Regions from separate parts of the Homo sapiens genome. Here regions 2 and 3 are each linked to region 1. Evidence: promoter capture Hi-C in human tissues and cell types (Jung and others, 2019). All regions are on one chromosome and are shown on one strand. Each heading gives the region's core, a stretch centred on a gene start or on the middle of the fragment in contact. The rest is flanking DNA. Distances are from core to core; before and after follow the strand shown.

Region 1 (4,672 bases), core at 1,361-3,860:
TGTGTGTGTCGGGGGTTGGGGGGTGGGTATCCACTTTACCTTGAACCTGGGCTGAGATGGTGAGGAAGGATGACCAAAAGGGGTAGAACCTTAAGTAGTATTTAGCCGGATTTGAGTTTACAAAGCTTGTATTGACAGTGAGCCTTTCTCCTTAAAGGAGAGGCTCTATTTCTCTTAAGAGACATAGCCTCTCTTTCAACGGGAGTCTGCTTTTCTTCTGAAACACTTTCATAATTAAGTGACTTTCCTTGCATAGGTGCCTGAGGACAGCTGATTTTTCTCAGAGGATGAAGAAAGTTACATATTGATTGCTGTTGCTCGCGGCATGTTCGTACCAGCGCGGGCAGAAACGGGCTCACGAGCGCCCTCGAATTCACACACACTCACCGAAATACACATCTCAGCCCGTGGAAGCGCATTCACACACACCCACGTACACTCCTCCGCACCTCATTCAGATGGGTCCACGCGGAGTCAGGGCTGCGCTTCCCTTGGCATGGGCGTGTGTGCGGCGAGGGCGTGTGTGCGTGCGTGTGTGAGAGTGTGTGTAGAGAAACCCTTTAGGCAGACCGCAGCTACGTTATTCTGCAAGCATACTGCGATTCCCGATTCCGTGTATGTAGGACCACAAAAAAATTAAATCGCTGTTAAACTTTTTTTTGTAAATTCTCTTTTCCGAAGGAAGGCGCTGGAAGAGCTACTCCCGGTGGTTAAAGGCCCGGGAGACCTGGTGGCGAATCCTGGGGCGCGTCCGCTTTGGCGGAGCGCTGGGCTCCGCTAGCCGGACTGGTTCCCCATCTAACTGATCTAATCAATGACTCCGAAGAGCCGGGGCTCCTGGCCCCGCCCCCGCCATCCTCTTCTCCGCCTCCCATTGGACGCGGGCCGAGAAGGCAGGGCCTTGCTCCTCGCTCGGATTGGCTGACAGGGAATCAGTATCAATGTTTAAGCGGCGGCGTGAGGTGAATAGAGTCAGTCAGCAAGAGACGCTGGGGAGAGAGCAGGGATCGCGAGCCCGGCGGATGCGGCAGCGGCGGAAGGCGGCTGGGGAGACGCTACTCCAACTGTTGAATTGAATTTTCACCTTTCCTTTCATCCGCTGCTTTGCTTGCGGAGATGGATTTATTTGCTTTGAAATCCGCATATCTTTCTCAGACTGTGGGGTGATCCCGGCAGACACCAGACTGAAAGAGACCACCCGTGACAGAAAAGGAGGAATTAAAAAAAAAAAAAACCTCCACAACAGACTGCACAATTAACTGTACACATCGATGTTGGACTTTGTGAATAGAAAAAATTGAGAGGAAAATCTTGAACTATGATGCGAGGCTAAGCTGGGAACAATTACTGGAAACCTGATTTTGTTTTTCCTTTTCCAAGACTCTGAAAAATTTCGGGGTACCTCTCGCCTAACCAAGAGGAAAGGTTTAAAAAAAATAAACAAAATAAATAAACCAATACACCTAGCAAAGCAGACGCCTTGTTTTCCAGAACCTCGGACTCCGGCAGAAAGAGGTAGAGTAAAAGTGCTGCTAGATTCAGCTTCACCTTCTTCCCTCCATCCTTTTCTCTTGCATTTTCTTTTTCCCCAAAAACATGAATCTGGTTTTTCTTTCTATAGACTGAGTCAGAGAAAGCGTTAGGAAGAAGCCGCAACTAATGTCTGTGAAGGGAGGACCATGAGGCGAGAGTGAATACGATTCGTTCCGCTGCTTCTGACTCATCCGGCAGATCGGAACACCTGCATTTCTGGATGTGTCATTCCCGTATGTCGAGGCGCCTCCAGAACCCGAAATAATGTGTAGACAGACCTGTGTCTAACATCCCCTCGGAGGGAGCTCCCCGGGGTAGGAGCCCCTGGCTGGACCGCCGCGGCCGCAGCTCTGCACCCCCTGCCCTCCCTGAGTCGCCCAGAAAAACTGAAAGAGAGACTGCAGAATGCATCACGCCAAACCTTGATGTGTTGCTTTCATCCAGCCCACTCCTCCTACTATAAGAGAAAATTGAAGGAAAAAAAAAAACACGTACTTTATTTGCTTCAAATATTCATCACTTTTATTCCTCGCCAAGGTTTTCTTTTCTAGATGAAGAGGACTGGGAGGCAGGGCTATTGGAAGGAGATGCTGAATAGAAAGAAAAGAGGCACTTGACAGCCCAGCCCTGTGAATGCAGAGACTGTTTCCCTTCTAGCGAGAGACAGGGAGAGTGTGTGTGCAAGGACTGGGAGGGAGGCTCCCCCTTCCTTTTTATTCGGCCTCCCCCCTCCTCCTTTAAATGTGCACGTCCAACCATGAGTTGCCTGTTGATTTCCCTTCGCCTGGGAAGAAAAGCAAACTGGAATTAAACTGCTTGGAGAGAAGTCCTTGCTCGCGGGGAGAGGATGGGATGGTAGCGGAGGCTACTGGCTTGGCGTAGAGAAATCAGAGAGTGTGTTCTACGAACAGAGGCGAAGATTTATCTCTCTACTTCCCCCCTCCCAATAGACTCACACAGCAAATGCTGATCAGGCTGTGGCTTTCTTGATTTCGGGGGAGAGCCTTTTCCGAGGAAGAGAGGGAGGAGCCTGGTGGGGAGAGGAAACTACAAATCGGGACACTAGTTCTTTACGCTGCATTTCCTCCCCTCCCTTTGGCTGCTCGGAAAGGAGAGAGAGGAAAAAAAAAATACGCTTGGCTGGTAGATGCAGTCCGCCGCCGCCGCTGCCTCAGCCAGCAATGCAAGATTAGATCTCTAAATGCAGCAAAACACTGCCTGAAAACAGACCGGCCCGCGCAGCAAGCAGACATTTCACGGTGCGCTGGGGAAGCTTCAAAATATATCTGTGACTCTGTCTTCGTTGCTCTTCATCCCCATCAATTTCATCACGGGAGGCGAGCAGCAAGTAAGAATTTCACTTTCGGATCTGCCTAGAGACACACCTCCCTGCTCCCTCCCCCACTCGATGTGAAGAGTATTCCGGAGTCTCCGGGCGGGAGTAGATTTGCAGCACCCTAGCGGGAGCGAGGAAAACCTACTGATTCTTTAGCTCATTATCATCTCTCCCAGACGAGATTTCCTTCTTATCGCCTGCCTCATCGCTCAAGTTTGAGCCTCCCGAAGTCCGGGCGGGAGAGACGAAACCCCTGGCTCACCCCCAGCCGCAGGAAGCCACCGCCTTGCTCCAAGCCCCTGCAGCTCTGCTGCACCGCAGCTTCTCACCCAGTGCGGATGCTGTAGATCAACAGGTTCAGGGAACTTGAGCAGAATAAGGAGAGACCACCGGGTGCCGCAGCTCGGGTGCAGAGGGAAAAAAGGACCCATAGACTTGTGGCTCGCGTCGCGCGCGCACGCTGCGCCAGGGCCCCAGGCTGGCGCGCACTCCCTCTCTGGCTCCTCCAGTCCGATTGCTCCTGCCCCCACCTTACAGGTCTGGGATGTACCTTTCCATCTGTTGCTGCTTTCTTCTATGGGCCCCTGCCCTCACTCTCAAGAACCTCAACTACTCCGTGCCGGAGGAGCAAGGGGCCGGCACGGTGATCGGGAACATCGGCAGGGATGCTCGACTGCAGCCTGGGCTTCCGCCTGCAGAGCGCGGCGGCGGAGGGCGCAGCAAGTCGGGTAGCTACCGGGTGCTGGAGAACTCCGCACCGCACCTGCTGGACGTGGACGCAGACAGCGGGCTCCTCTACACCAAGCAGCGCATCGACCGCGAGTCCCTGTGCCGCCACAATGCCAAGTGCCAGCTGTCCCTCGAGGTGTTCGCCAACGACAAGGAGATCTGCATGATCAAGGTAGAGATCCAGGACATCAACGACAACGCGCCCTCCTTCTCCTCGGACCAGATCGAAATGGACATCTCGGAGAACGCTGCTCCGGGCACCCGCTTCCCCCTCACCAGCGCACATGACCCCGACGCCGGCGAGAATGGGCTCCGCACCTACCTGCTCACGCGCGACGATCACGGCCTCTTTGGACTGGACGTTAAGTCCCGCGGCGACGGCACCAAGTTCCCAGAACTGGTCATCCAGAAGGCTCTGGACCGCGAGCAACAGAATCACCATACGCTCGTGCTGACTGCCCTGGACGGTGGCGAGCCTCCACGTTCCGCCACCGTACAGATCAACGTGAAGGTGATTGACTCCAACGACAACAGCCCGGTCTTCGAGGCGCCATCCTACTTGGTGGAACTGCCCGAGAACGCTCCGCTGGGTACAGTGGTCATCGATCTGAACGCCACCGACGCCGATGAAGGTCCCAATGGTGAAGTGCTCTACTCTTTCAGCAGCTACGTGCCTGACCGCGTGCGGGAGCTCTTCTCCATCGACCCCAAGACCGGCCTAATCCGTGTGAAGGGCAATCTGGACTATGAGGAAAACGGGATGCTGGAGATTGACGTGCAGGCCCGAGACCTGGGGCCTAACCCTATCCCAGCCCACTGCAAAGTCACGGTCAAGCTCATCGACCGCAACGACAATGCGCCGTCCATCGGTTTCGTCTCCGTGCGCCAGGGGGCGCTGAGCGAGGCCGCCCCTCCCGGCACCGTCATCGCCCTGGTGCGGGTCACTGACCGGGACTCTGGCAAGAACGGACAGCTGCAGTGTCGGGTCCTAGGCGGAGGAGGGACGGGCGGCGGCGGGGGCCTGGGCGGGCCCGGGGGTTCCGTCCCCTTCAAGCTTGAGGAGAACTACGACAA
Region 2 (4,672 bases), core at 1,036-3,535, 230 kb after region 1:
TCAATATATACCCATAATCATGTACAGAATTTTTTTCCGGAACATTATGACATTTCCATGTGATTTGTTTTCTGGGTAAAAGGACTATTTTATTATGAAAAGTGTTACTTCCAGGCTTTGCAATATTAATGCATAATGTCATATATGGTTGTTTGGACATTGTAGTGAAGGCTTCTTACAGCTGCCCTGAGTGTTTATTGTCAGCTGTGAATTAATCTGCTGTTATAATGTGACATGTTCAGTAAAATGATGCAGATCATTTGCTTGTTTAGGGTCTCTGCTAAAACAATATAAGATAAATAAAAATAATTCTTCCCATTCCAAGATGTTCCTAAACCTTGCGAGTATCCAAATAAATAAAGTATTGACTGAAATCCCACTTAACTACATACTATCATGATATTTAACATTTGTCAAAGCTTATTGTAAAACCAGTTTTTTCACAGGATGGTGGATTAGAGGCTTTTAGTGTGCCTCAGCCACCTGGAAATTGCAAAATAGTGCATGAAGATGAACCCTGAGTTTTCATTCAAGAAGGAAAATGGGAAGCCACCAGAATTGTGAAGGATACCCCAGACCCCAGGGAGTAGAGCAATAGCACCCAGCCCCCATGACAATGTCTGGCTGATAAAAGTGAGTGGAAGCCCAGTACATGAGAGAGGCAGGGAGCCTCCCTCTGTGCTCACCTTTTCACTGGGGACCCAAGCAACTCAGGGGAGAGCACTTTGTTTCTCCGAAACCATGGAGCTAACTTGAAGAGAGGCTTGTAGATACTGTGAGGGAAAAACAAGGGGAAAAGCTGAAGAGTTTTTCCCTGACCTGGGACTGAGCAGGACATCCTGTTAAATTTGAGTGCATGCAATGTCAGTCATTCTTGGTGATCCAACAATGTGGCTACTCAGGCATTTTAGTCACCAGCCAGAGATTGAACCACCTGCTCTGGAGTGGGGTAGGGGCCTCTACAGCCAGAATTGTGGAAAGTGCCTCAGCAGTAGGTGGGGAGGGAGGAGAGCTGCTACAGCTACAGTTTCTCCTGGGTGCCAAGACTAGGAGCAAGGGGCCAGCTTGCTGACCCAGAACCAGCTGGTGTGGTGTGTGCCATTGTTGCGTGTCCCAGCCTGCTCCTCTGAGATTGTGGTGCATCAGAACCCTTTCTGCTCTATCCCCAGGCAGACATCCAAACATTTGGAGCACTTGCTTGACTAGATCACCATCCAGAGCTGCTCTAACCTTCCTGGGCATAGATCATAGTACAGTGGGGTTCTCTCTGCTCTATACTCAGGCATATCTCCAGGCATTCAGAGCACCTACTCAACTGGATCAGCAGCCTGACCTGCTCCATCCTTCCTGTGCAGAGATCCTGGTACAGGGAGGTCCTCTCTGCTTTGCACCCAGGAAGATCCCAGGCGTTTGCCTGGAACAGAAGCCCAAGTCACCCCACCCTTCCTATGTAGAGATTCTGCTGTGGGGCGGGTGGTGGGGGGGCTCTCTGCTACACACCCAGGCAGATTTCCAGGCATTCAGAGAACCTGCTTGCTGGGTTCAGCAGCCTGAGTCACCCTACCCTCCTGTGCAGAGATCTTGGGGCAGAGGCCCCTCTCTGATCCCTAGGTAGATCTCCAGGTCTCTTGAGCAACTACTCTTCTGGATTAGGAGTTCAGGCCAACCCCATATTCCCATGCAGATAATTTAGGGCCAATGGGGGTTTTCAAGCTCCATGCCTAGGCACACCTTTGGGCACCTGGTGGCCACCCACTGGATTCTCCCTTAGTGCTGGTGCTCGTTTGCCACCTGATGAACTCTAGGTGGAGAGGATCTGCCCAGTCTGGCCCCACTCATTATAGCCTTGCCCCCACTCCCTCACCCAGGGCTGAGCAAGGAGCTCAGACCACTGTGCACTCCACAGATCAGCCCCTTGTCTGCAGCAACCAAAAGCTTCTCCTTGTAAACAAGGATCTAGAATATACCATTGCAGTGCAGCTGGCTCTTATCTGTAAGCACTAGCTACTGGCTTGTAAGTCTAACTGCTCAGCCCAATATAAACCTGCCAAAAGACATGCATAGGGCTATAGTGTTGCAGAAATCAGGAGACTGGAGAGACAAGCGTTGGGGAACAGGAGGATTTTATTTAGGTGGCCACTGGTTCAGCAGATTAATATCCAAAGGCTGGGCATTGAACAAAGACAGGGGTTGACTTTTGTACATACAGCTAAAGAGGGTTGGCCATCTAGTGACTCGAAACCCGCAGGGCAGGTAAGCGAGCTTACAGAAGCAGAACAAAGGCAGTTAATCATACTGTGACAGGTTTTGCAACAGGCTTTGCAACATGAGCTTATCTCACTTAAACATGTCTTGTGACTTTGCCATGCTACAGAAAGAAAAACAGGAACTTATAAAAACTTTTACAAACTTGCAGAAACAGTTACAAAAGTAGTTATGAGAGCAGAGCAAAGAATGATAGTATGGGGAGAGATTTCCAAAGGGGGAAACTGATAAGGAGAACTTGCTTTTCCCATCCTTGTACCTGGAGTCTATTCCTTTGGGTCCCCTGCCTGGCCTTGCAGATAATGTTATCATAGCTCTAGCAGGACTTTGGAGTGAGTCAGCCTGGTCAAGGCTGTTTTCCCTTTGCTTGTTTTTCTTTTTATATTTCCTGCTTCAATAGAGGCAAAACAAAAATACCCTACCCAGCATTCTCTACAGCCACAACATCTGGTGGGTAGGAGGAAGAGCAAGGAAAAGAAAAAATAATAATATAGAAAATGAAAGAAAATTAAAAACTCCTAACTGCATAAAAATAATTATAAAATTAGAAGTGCAAGTATCTCAAGATAAGACAGAACCAGCATAAGAATTCTGACACCATGAGAAATCTGAATGTATTGTCACCACAAAATTTCACTAGTTCTCCAGCAATGGTGTTTAAACAAAATGGAAACTCAGAAATTACAGATAAAGAATTCAAAGCATGGACTGCAGGTAAGCACAATGAGATTCAAGACAAGGTTGAAAATCAAAACAAAGAAACTTCCAAAGCAATCCAGGAAATAAAGAAGACATAAACATCTCAAAAAGAAAACAATTGGAGCTTCTGGAATTTGAAAGCTCACTTAAGGAATTTCTTTCTCTTTTTGAGACAGGGTCTGGCTCTGTCACTCAGGCTGGAATTTCGTGGCATGATTTGGCTCACTGCAACCTTTGCCTTCTGCATTCAAGCCAACCTTCCACCTCAGCCTCCCAAGTAGCTGGGACTACAGGTGTGTGTCACCATGCCCAGCTAATTTTTTTCGTATTTTTTGTGGAGATGGGGTTTTGTCATGTTTCCCAGGTTGGTCTCCAACTTGTGAGCCCAATCTGTCTGCCTGCCTTGGCCTCCCAAATACTGGGATTACAGATGTTAACCACTGTGCCCAGCCTAGGAATTTAAAAATACAATTGAAAGCTTTATCAATATAACTGACCAAGCAGAAGAAAAAATTTCAGAGCTTGAAGACCAGTCTCTTGAACTAACTCAGTCAGATAAAAATAAAGAAAAAAAGAATTTAAAAAAATGAATAAATCTTCAAGATATATGGCCTTATGTAAAGTGACCAAACCTAGAATTTCTAACAGGCATTCCTGTTAGAAAAGGAGAAAATGTAAACAATCTGGAAAACATATTTGAGGAAATAATGAATAAAATTTTCCCGATCTTGCTAAAGAGGTAGACATCCAGAAACAAGAAATCCAGAGAACATCTGTGAGTTGCTATTCAAAATGAGCATCACCAAGACATATCGTCACCCAACTGTCTAAGGTCAACACTGAACAAAAAATCTTAAAGGCAGCTAGAGAGAAAAGTCTGATCATGGTCAAAGAGATCTCAATCAGTCTAACAGTGAACTTCTAGCAGAAATCTTGCAAGCCAGGAAAGATTGAGGTACTATTTTGAGGATTCTTAATTAAAAAAAAAAGAAATTCTATACAAGAATTTCATGTCCCACCAACTGAGCTCCATAAGCAAATGAGAAATAAAATATTTTCCAGAGAAGGAAGTGCTAAGGGAATTTGTTACCACTAGACCTGTATTATAAGAGATGCTTAAGGAAGTTCTAAACATGGAAATGAAAGACCAATACCAGCTACCATGAAACACACTTAAATACATAGTTCACATATCCTATAAAGCAGTGGTACCCAACCTTTTTGGCATCAGGGACTAGTTTTGTGGAAGACAGTTTTTTCATGGACTGAGGTGGGTGGATGGTTTTGGGATGATTCAAGTATATTACATTTATTGTGAACTTTACTTCTATTATTATTACACTATAATATACAGAAATAATTATAGAACTCATTATAATGCACAATCAATGGGAGCCCTGAGCATGTTTTCCTGCAAGTAGATGGTCCCGTCTGGGGACAATGGGAGACAGTGACAGATCATCAGGCATTAGATTTTCATTAGGAGCACACAACCTAGATCCCTCACATGTACATTTCACAATAGGGTTTGTGCGCCAATGAGAATCTGATGCCGCTGCTGATCTCACAGGAGTTGGAGCTCAGGCAGTTATGCAAGCAATGGAGAGTGGCTGTAAATACAGATGAAGCTCACCTGCTGCTCATCTACTGTTGTGCAGCTCAGTTCCTAACAGGCCACAGACCAGTATTAGTCCATGGCCTGGGGGTT
Region 3 (4,672 bases), core at 842-3,341, 220 kb after region 1:
CATAGTGCAACCTGTAATCAAAGTGTGAAGCAATCACCACAGAAGTTATAATTTAGATTATGACTTAATAGCACTGGTTCTAAAGGACTAGATTTGAGTATTTGGAATTTCACTAACCACTGATTGCAGTAAGTGGGCACAATTGAATCAATATCAAAAAGGCTATCCCTTCCCTTCTGAGGCAGTGGTGATGTCTGAGCTTGACTGAACTGGTTTTTATGTGTGAAATGCTTTGCAAACTGGTGGTATCTGCTGTAATAAGAACATACTCTTGTGTAGCTTATGTTCTAGACTTTTTCTGATAATCCTTCCTTTATTAGCTGTTTTTGTCAATGATCAGTTGTACACCCTCAATCAATCTTACCTACATTTTAAAAAACCATTTTAAGCATAGTGGCCAATATTTTCCAGCTTTTACAAAGTAAATCACACATAAATTTGTGTTAAATCTAGTAAAGCTATTATGATAAAATTTTCAGTTGAAATAATTACTGGGGAATTCAAATGAAAGTTTCTCTTGGCTTCACACAAGTTTATATTTTGTAATTTAAAAAATGGAGAATACTAGGAAACCAAGGCCATCAAATTTATTCTTCCAGCCTTTCAACAGTCTTGGCTTACCTAAGCAACTAAGGGAAGGGAAATAAGGAATAAAGAGTCACAAAGAAAACACACATGATTACTGTAATACAATGTTTTGAGACACGTCAAAATATATGCAAACATATTTTTAGGTAATTGAAGGAAGAAAAGCTATTACATTTGCTAATTTTTTTCAAAAAAAATGTTTATTTTTTCTTTATTGAAGAGGCCATCTTCCTGAATTTGTTATATTTATCAGTAAAATTGTGCTCTACTCTATGTCATTTCTGAAAGAACCCTAGGGGAGCTTACCCAATCACTACCAATTGGTAGTTAACTTGTGGGGATTACAAACATAACTATCAAAATCCAATAAGCCTGTTAGAAGGAATTTTTATTAGAATTCCTACATTGCCACTTGTATGATATTTGGTCTTGTATGATATTTGGTTTATTTCATGTTCAGTTATCTTATGTGTAAAGCAGGAAAAATAACATTGTGCGATTTTTATAAGGATTAAGGAACATGTGTGCAATGTTTAGTGTTGTGGATATAACAGGGTAAGTGCCAAATAAAAGGTAGCTAATACCTAATATTGTAATTTTTTGGGGGTATATGTATGTATCAAATTGGAGAACTCTGGGCTTGCTTAGGCTGTTACTTTTTCAATTTATTAATTATTCTCCTTTTTGGCAAACTTTTGAGCATTTAGGCTACTAGTACTGCTGACATACTCAAATTATTGCTACTGTGCTGCAGAAATTTTACCCAGGATGAGGAAGTCTGTCCCAAATCTGGCCAAAAATCCATAAAATGTTTTTTTCCTTTAGTTATATGTCCTAGAAAATTAAAAGTGCTACCTGCACACCTCAGAGATAGTGTGGCTTCATTTCTAGTCCAACACAATAAAATAATTCACACAATTTTTTTTGTTTCCCCATAAATAAAAAAGTTATGTTTACACTCTACTATTGTCTATTAAGTGTGCAATAGCATTATCTAAAAACAATGTACATACCTTAATTAAAAATACTTTATTGCTAAAATATGCTAGTGATCTTCTGAACCTTCACTCAGTCCTAGTCTTTTTGCTGGTGGAGGGTCTTGCCTTTAAATTGAGGCTGCTGACTGATAAGGGTGGTGAGTGGTGTATATTGGGTTGGCTGTGGCAATTTCATAAACTAAGGCAACAGTGAAGTTTGCTGTATCAATTGACTCTTCCTTTCACAAAAGATATCTCTGTAGGATGCAATGCTCTTTGATAGCATTTCACCCACAGTAAAGCTTCTTTCAAATTAAGACTCAATTCTTTCAAATCCTGCTGCTGCTTTATGAGCTAAATTTATATAATATTCTCCATTCTTTGTTGCCATTTCAACAATGTTCCCAGCATCTTCACCAAGAGTAGACTACATCTCAAAAAAACACTGTCTTTGCCTATCCATAAGAAGTAAGTTCTCCTCCATTAAAGTTGTATCATGAGATTGCAGTAATTCAGTCACAACTTCAAGCTCCATCCACTTCTAGCTCTATTAATAGTTCTCTTGCTATTTCTACCACATCTACAGTTACTTACTTCAATAAAGTCTTGAACCTCTCAAAGTCATCCACAAGAGCTAGAGTAAACTTCTTCCAAATCTCTGTTAATATGGATATTTTGACCTCTTCTCATGAATTATAGATATTCTTAATGATCAAAAATAGTGAATCCTTTTGAAAAGGTTTTCAACTTACCTTGCCCAGATTTATCAGAGGAATCACTATCCATGTCAGCTATAGCCTTACAAAATGTAGTTCTTAAATAATAAGACTTGAAATTACTCCTTGATCCATGGGCTGCAGAATGGATGTTATGTTAGCAGGATGTATCTTTGTACATCTCCATCAGAGGTCTTCAGTGATATGGTGAATCTTCAATGAGCATTAACGTTTTCAAATAATATTTTTTTCTGAGAAGTAGGTCCCAACAGCAGGCTTGTAACACTCAGTAAACCATGCTATAAACAGATAGCTGTCATCCTGGTTTTGTTGTTCCATTTATAGATTACAGGAAGAGTAGATTTATTATAATTCTTAAGGGTCCTAGAATTTTTGGAATGGTAAGTCAGCATTAGCTTTAATTGAAAGTCACCAGGTGCATTAGGGACAACAAGAGAGTCAACCTGTCCCTTGAAGCTTTGAAATATTATCTCTAGCTATCAAGGTCCTAGATGGTATCTTCTTCCAATACAATGCTGTTTTATCTACATTGAAAAATTTGTTGTTTAGTGTAGCCACCTTCATCAGTTATCTTAAGTAGATCTTCTGGACACTATTCTGCAACTTCTATATTAGCACTAGCTGCCTCACCTTGCACTTTAATGTTATGGTACAAGTTCTTTCCCTAAACCTTATGGACCAACTTCTGCTAGCTTCACATTTTTCTCTCGCAGCTTCCACACCTCTCTCAGTCTTCATAAAATTAAAGAGTTAAGGCCTCACTTTGAATTACGCTTTGATTTAAGGGAATATTGTGGCCAGTTTGATCTATCCAGACAATTAGAGCTTTCTATATCAGCAATAAGGCTGTTTCACTTTCTCATCGTTCTTATATTCACTGGACTAGTACTTTTAATTTCCTTTAAGAACTTTGCATTCACAACTTGGCTAACTGATTGGTGCAAGAGTCCTAGCTTTCAGCCTATCTCAGCTTGAGTCATGACTTCCTCAGCAAGCTTAATCTAGTTTTTGATTTAAAATGAAAGATGTGCAATTCTTCCTTGCACTTGACCACTTAGAGGCCATCATAGGCATATTAATTGGCCTTATTTTAATATTCCTGTGACTCATGGAATAGGGAGGCCCAAAGAGAGAGAGAGAAAGATGGGAAGCAGCCAGTCGGTGGAACAGTCAGAACACACATAACATTTATTGATTAATTTTGCTGTCTTATAGAGGTGAGGTTCATGGAGCACCCAAACAATTACAGTAGCAACATCCAAGCTCACCCATCATAGGTTACCATAATAAATATTAATGAAAAAGTTTAAAGTATTATGAGAATTACCAAAATGGGACACAGAGACTACAAAGTGAGCATATGCTGTTGGAAAAATGGTGCAGACAGGCTTGCTCTACACAGAGTTGCCAGAAATCTTCAATTCATAAAAAATTCAGTATCTTTGAAGTGGAATAAAGGGAAGTACAATAAAATGAGGTATGCCTGTAAACTGCTGCAATATACATATTCAGCAATTTTTGCCCAGTTTCATTCTTCTTTTTTACACTCATAGAGATAGAAAAAGTTGAAAAAAGTTCAGAGTTCTCACTTTGACTTCACTTAGAAAAAACAGTGCTTCTTCATATTCACCATAAAATATCAGTAAGTAAGCCGGCAGAACTTACTAAAAATATCTTAGGAGCAGAACATTGCTTACTACAAAGATAGTTATTTAATTAATCCCCAATAGATATTTCTGTTTTGTCTAAAGTCTCTATAGCCACCATCCAGTGGCTCTTATTCCAAGTGGTCAGCTTCTTTTTTATGCAAAGTCACTTCTGTATAAAATATAATGCAAATCCAACCTTGGACCACCTTCTATTGTCAGAGGACTTCTCAAAGCTTCTTTGCAACAACATTCATCTTCCACTTCTAGAGAATTCAAGCACCAAATAACTACTAAGAAAATAAACTTTTCTTCACATCTTATACTTCCTTAGATATAGTAATAAATATAGGTAATTCACATATGTACAAGAGGCAGGGTCTATTTTTGACTTTGGAATAAACAGGTAATTATAATGCCACAGTTTTCTAAAACACAAATGCATGACCTACTGTGTTACTATAGCACCGATGAAGCTATGTGTTACATGATGAAGCAAGAAAATGCTTTTGAACAGATGCTTATGAGTAGGATATCTGTGAGTAATAGAGGGCAAAGTTCAATCAAAATTAAGTAATCATAGTTAAAATCGAGAATGCCATTGATGGTTGTGGAATGCAATTAAATCACAATAAGTGATTGAGTCATTATAAAGCAATTTATGCTGTTGAGGAAGGTGTGGGTCAAATTAGAAAAAGATTAAAGGCAGGAGTAATAGTTAAGA

What was found. Contacts are between HindIII fragments. The study calls those that stand out against the background at their distance.
Region 2: a contact is called between a fragment that was not itself captured here and the fragment with the promoter of PCDH17 in region 1, in 1 of the 25 tissues and cell types used here (dorsolateral prefrontal cortex).
Region 3: a fragment that was not itself captured here is called in contact with the fragment with the promoter of PCDH17 in region 1 in 1 of the 25 tissues and cell types used here (dorsolateral prefrontal cortex).

The regions. Positions count from the first base shown.
Region 1 is chr13:57,629,134-57,633,805 of GRCh38, forward strand. It overlaps PCDH17 (protocadherin 17), which reads left to right and starts at 2,611. Exons shown (of 4, transcript NM_001040429.3): 1 at 2,611-4,672. The coding sequence starts at 3,414. RefSeq lists enhancers at 574-1,159, 3,118-3,797. The HindIII fragment of the contact is 5,195 bases long and covers 1-3,729 here.
Region 2 is chr13:57,863,564-57,868,235 of GRCh38, forward strand. No RefSeq gene overlaps it. Among named protein-coding and RNA genes, the nearest start is that of PCDH17, 230 kb to the left of the region's middle. The HindIII fragment of the contact is 4,790 bases long and covers 1-4,672 here.
Region 3 is chr13:57,847,671-57,852,342 of GRCh38, forward strand. No RefSeq gene overlaps it. Among named protein-coding and RNA genes, the nearest start is that of PCDH17, 220 kb to the left of the region's middle. The HindIII fragment of the contact is 3,298 bases long and covers 443-3,740 here.